Regions from separate parts of the Homo sapiens genome. Here region 1 is linked to region 2. Evidence: promoter capture Hi-C in human tissues and cell types (Jung and others, 2019). All regions are on one chromosome and are shown on one strand. Each heading gives the region's core, a stretch centred on a gene start or on the middle of the fragment in contact. The rest is flanking DNA. Distances are from core to core; before and after follow the strand shown.

Region 1 (2,924 bases), core at 54-2,553, 930 kb before region 2:
TCATAGAAATCTTTATTCTCTGAATTGCTGAATGATATAGATGTACCATAGATAACCATTCCTCTGTCAGACATTTAAATTATTGCTGCTTTTGTATAATTACCAACAGTGCTATGTGAACATCCTAGCATGTGCAGTGTGTCTCTGAATGTCTATGCTGAATGAATATTTCAAGTATCCAAAAGCAGAAATGCTATACTAATATTGATAGGTTTAAACTGCCTTTTAAATAGCTGTATCCATTTATATTCTTACCTACAGGATATGAGAGTAACAGTGTCTCCCTACTTTGCCAAAAGAAGGTATTATAAATCTTTAAAATTTTGCATTTTGATAGTTAAAAAATAATATTTCACTTAAATATGTATTCTCTGACTACCGAGGTTGAGGAAGTTTCGAGTTTATTAATAATTTATGAGTTACACATATGTAATTCAGATAACACATAATATAGAAACATGAATATATTGTGCATGTATGTGTGCCTATACAAATATATATATATATAAATAATATATATATAAAAATATATATGTAAATATATATATATATATATATATATATATATATATATATATATATATATATATTTGTCCCTGGTGAAATGTTTGTATTTAATCTGAGAAGTAGCTATTGTTGGCAAAAAAGCCCAGGGAAGAAGTATTTATCTGTTATGCTCAACCTGCCAGATCACTAGCTCTGAAGGGACCTTTAATGACCTAAAATACAATGTAATTGTTAATAACAGAACATGGGAGACAGAATCAGGATCTATCTATGAAATCGGACATGACCCATTTATTAAGGCAGATGACCAAGAAGTTATTATCTAGTAAGAAAGACTTTTTTGGTTCTAGAAACATGGTTTATTGCACAAAAAACAATGACATTTTATTAGGTTCCCCCAGTGGCAAAAGTTGCATACAAACAGCACACAAATACCTCCTGTCATTTTAAATTTGACATCTCTGAATTATGGAGGAATCATTCACTCAGCTTAATTTGGGGCTCATGACTTTAGTCTTCTAGATTGCAGTGTGTTATCAGGACTATTATAAGCATTCTTTATCTGTGCTGTCCAAAAAAGCAGCCATTAGGTAGATGCAGCTCTTTACATTTTTATTAAAATTATTTAAAATTAAAAATTCAATTGCTCTGACACACAAACCATAATGCAAGTGTTCAATAGCTACATTTGGCTACTGGCTGCCTTATTGGCTAGCACAGATAGAATATTTCCATTGTTGCAGAAAGTTCTATTGGATGGTGCTGTTTTAAAAGCAAGGATAAGCAGAAAGGGACATGGATTTTAGTTGATGGATGACTCACTCACTACATTCAACTGAACTGAATCTGCTCTATACCAGCAAAGGGACAAATTCAGAAAATAAATTGAAGATGGCCATGCTGTAACTTCTAAACATGGTTTGCTTCTCAGATTTACCTAAACTAAGAAAGGTTTGTGTTAATCTCTCTGTTTTAGCTTATTAAGAAAGAGTTGTTTGAAATGTTTTTATCTTTTTCTTTTGAATTCTATGGTACTGTATATATGTATACCAGTTTTTATGTCATTTGCTATGAAAGCTTTAATTTGTAGCTAAATACTACTGCTCCTTCTTTCAGGAAATACTATGTGTTGTCCTTTATGAAAAAAATATTTTCTTTCTTTTTATGATTATAAAAGTAAAATGCTTATAGTAAAAAATTAAAATACATGTAATTACAATATATTAAGTATATAATTTGTAATCCCAACATCCAGAGCTAATCACCGTTAATATTTTCATGAATATCCTTCTAGACTTTTTTGTATACATCTGTAAATGTAACTAAACTTATAATAATGGGGCCATATTATTCTATTTTATAACATCAATTTCACTGAAATGAAATATCAAATGCCATTTTATGTATGTTTATCATTTCTACTGGTTGCATAGTATCACACCGTGGATGTAGTCGATTATTTAACCAGTTTTTCTTGTATTATTATTTTATGTTTTTAGCTTATGACTATTATAAACAACATGAATTACATCTTTGCTTACATTATTATTATTTATGAACCATAAATGAGACTTAACTTGCTTACTTTTTTTTTATTTTTTGAGACAGAGTCTCACTCTATTGCCCAGGCTGGAATGCAGTGGCCAGATCTCGGCTCACTGCAACCTTCACCTCCCAGGTTCAAGCGATTCTCCTGCCTCAGTCTCCTGAGTAGCTGGGATTACAGGCATGTGCCACCATGCCCGGCTAATTTTTGTATTTTTAGTAGAGATGGGGTTCAACCATGTTGCTCAGGCTGGTCTCGAACTCCTGACCTCGTAATCCGCCCGCCTGTGCCTCCCAAAGTGCTGGGATTACAGGCGTGAGCCACCGCGCCTGGCCAACTTGCTTACATTTTAAAGTGCTTTGGGTTGTTGGGTCAGAGTATGCTATTATTATTATTATTATTATTATTATTATTATTATTATTTATTTTTTTTTGAGACAGAGTCTTGCTCTGTCGCCCAGGCTGGAGTGCAATGGTGTGATCTCGGCTCACTGCAACCTCTGCCTCTGGGTTCAAGTGATTCTTCTGCCTCAGCCTCCCGAGTAGCTGGGACTACAGGCGCCCGCCACCACGCCCGACTAATTTTTGTATTTTTAGTAGAGCAAGGGTTTCAACCATGTTGGCCAGGCTGGTCTCAAACTCCTGACCTCAAGTGATCCGCTGGCCTCGGCCTCCTAAAGTATTGGGATTACAGGCGTGAGCCACCGTGCCCGGCCAGAGTATGCTATTATTAACATAATAAAGTCAATGGAAAGTTTCTCTATTTCAGGAATACAACTATATTTTAGAAGGTTGATGCTTTTGCAAATCGTATTAACAGAGCCGGGCGCGGTGGCTCACGCTTGTAATCCCAGCACTTTGGGAGGCCGAG
Region 2 (2,700 bases), core at 142-2,641:
AGCTCCATTTGTGCTGTGGATGTTTCCAGGAAAAGAAATGGATTGAGAAGAAGGCAACGACTGTTTCTGGAAGGGGTTTACATATGCAAAGTTGAACTGGTCATTAGGATGGCCACTTCACTTGGGGAAAGAGGAAGGGAAACTGTTCACAAGTCACAACAGTCACCCCCTCCCCAGCACTGAAGGCCCATTCCTTCAGTTTGGGCCAAAGCTTGAGAGAAGGTGTATTTATTAAAATAGTTCAGAAAGTAATTCACTAACTCCATAGATAACTGTGTGCCAGAAACTGCTGGTATGTTGATGAAAAGGCATAGTCCTGTCCAACGGGAGCTTACAGCTTAATTAAACAGCCAATAGGCCAAGTGAGAATGATCCTAGCATTCCTTATCTGAGCTGGGTGAGCAATCACAGCTCACTGCAGCCTTGAACTCCTGGGCTCAAGCAATCCTCCCACCTCAGCCTCCCAAGTAGCTGGGACTACAGGCATGCACCACCATACCCGGCTAAATTTAAAAAAATTTTTTTTTAGAGATGGGGTCTCAAACTCCTGGCCTCAAGCGATCCTCCCTCCTTGGCCTTCCAAAGTGCCGGGATTACAGACATGAGCCACTGTGCCCAGTCCCTGTGCTGGCTCTTTTTGTCCATCTTGGGTAACCTCCTTATCTTAGATGGGGAAATTGAGTCCCAAGGGAAGAAAGGTCTTGGCCAAGGTCACAAAGCCAGGCGGATCAGGGGAAGGACGTTGCCGGACAGGAACAGTGTCATACCCTTTATAAAGTGCGTTCACACCCAGTAGCCTCAAACAGCCCTGTGTGGCAGGAGGGCTGGGTGGGGCTAAGGGAGGAAATAGGGCAGTGTGTAGCGGTATAAATGGCCCAGGAGTTGCAGTCAGACTTTCAGTGGAGTCCCAGTGTTGCCACCTGCTAGCTGCAGGACTTAATGTCAAACTGCTTAACCTATCCAAGGCTCAGTTTCTCCACCTGGAAAATGGACATAATGGTTCTTCATAGTCTGGTTCTCCCTCCATTAAACCAGGAGAAGGTAGTTATTTTAGGGGAAGAGTTTCAGTAGAGGTCCGGGTTGTCTACCCTGGAGTGAGAAGAGCTGAGGATGGAACTAAGGAGAAAATAAAAATGCATTATATTCTTCCCCTAAGATAAAATGTGACCATCTTCCTTCTGGGTGGGAAGCTCTGGCCCCATGACCTAGAGGGCTGGGGATGGGAGTGAGGGCAATCATTAGAAAACCTTTCTGGTATAGGAAGCCCAGTGTACCCCAGGGCCTAAGGGGTTAACACGGATGGAGAGACTCCCCACCCCACGATTGACTCGGGCATGCTGGGACTTGCAGGCTGACTGACCACCATGTGGCGCAGGGGCTGTTGGGAAATGTAGTCACTGTCCCGGAACCTGGGGCAGCGGAGTCCCGTGCGCCCTGTGGTGACAGCTCAGGAGGTAGGTGACAATGTCAGGGAGCTGTGGGTGGGAGCAGAGCAGGAAAGCCAGGGCAGGGCTGGGCAGGAGGGAGTGGGCAAGCTGAGGGCTGGGACACCCCCCAACCCCCGGCCTGCAGCTGATGCAATGGGCCTGCTGGGGCGGGGGTGAAGGGCAAGCAGCAATGGGACACTTCCTGTCTCCAAGGAAAGAGGAATGGGACCCTCCTGAATGACAGTAAGGGGATGTTCCCTGAACCCCACATGGACACACCACTGACACCTCCCAGAGAGGCGCTAGCAGAACAAAAACTGTCCCCAAAAGAGAGGAAGAGCCATGTCCTAGGAGCAAAGGGACTAGGTCCCCTTCTCCAATCCACGTACCCCACTTCCAACAAGGATAGACCACACTCAAGAGCAACTGGATGCCCTCCCAGACAAAGGCAGTATAGCAAACTGTAGATCCCAGCGGGGCAAAGGGACTGGACCCCTATCCCTAAAAACTGAAAGGCCTATTCTAGGGAGGACAAAGAGGAGGAGGAGGAGGATCAGGCCTCCCCGGTACCATCTCCCTCTGCAAAGGCCCCTCCCTCCTGCCCCCAACCCCTCTGAGGCAGCTCCACCACCCCATGCGTAACTTGTTGACCAAAGCGGGGCTCCTATCTCCCCTCCCACAGGGTGTGTGCGCTCAGCAGGGGCCAGCATGGACCAGTCTGTGGCAATCCAGGAGACGCTGGCTGAGGGGGAATACTGCGTCATCATATCCTTCCTGTGCTAACTGCGGCCCTGAGCCTGCCCTGGCCTTGGGAAGAGGAATGGAAGGTGTCGAGGTGTCTATCCCCTCTCCTGCCCCTCTGAACCATCAGGGGAGAAGGAAATCAGTATTTACTAAGTACTTACTGAGTCCTGGACTCTCAGCCAAATGCTTTAAATACGCAGTTATCCTCCTAACTCCCTATGAAGTTGGGGATTATTATCCTCATTTCATAGATAAGGAAGGCTTAGAGAGCCTGTTTGTCTGTTAGTTCAGCACATGGTTTGAGTGCTCACCCAAGGCCACACAGTGAATCTGGGGGGGCAGGGGAACAGAGGGAAGGTGGGACAGCCTGGGTGGGGAGAGGCCTCGCCTCTGGGTTGTCTTCCCTTGACTCTGAGCCGCAGGCGGTGCAAGGTGTGCTGTGTGAGGGGGACAGCCGGCAGAGCCGCCTCCTGGGACTCGTGCGCTACCGCCTGGAGCACGGCGGCCAGGAACACGCGTGAGTGAGGGG

The links. Contacts are between HindIII fragments. The study calls those that stand out against the background at their distance.
Region 1: the fragment with the promoter of GJA9 here is called in contact with the fragment with the promoter of INPP5B in region 2 in 2 of the 25 tissues and cell types used here (dorsolateral prefrontal cortex and spleen).

The regions. Positions count from the first base shown.
Region 1 is chr1:38,879,966-38,882,889 of GRCh38, reverse strand. It overlaps GJA9 (gap junction protein alpha 9), which reads left to right and starts at 1,303. Exons shown (of 2, transcript NM_030772.5): 1 at 1,303-1,458. It overlaps GJA9-MYCBP (GJA9-MYCBP readthrough), which reads left to right and starts at 1,264. Exons shown (of 3, transcript NR_037637.1): 1 at 1,264-1,458. The HindIII fragment of the contact is 16,120 bases long and covers 1-2,924 here.
Region 2 is chr1:37,945,744-37,948,443 of GRCh38, reverse strand. INPP5B (inositol polyphosphate-5-phosphatase B) reads left to right here and starts at 1,391. Exons shown (of 24, transcript NM_005540.3): 1 at 1,391-1,454; 2 at 2,110-2,192; 3 at 2,594-2,688. The coding sequence starts at 2,136. It also overlaps a transcript of LOC105378651 not described here. RefSeq lists enhancers at 1,223-1,462, 1,040-1,569. The HindIII fragment of the contact is 19,061 bases long and covers 1-2,700 here.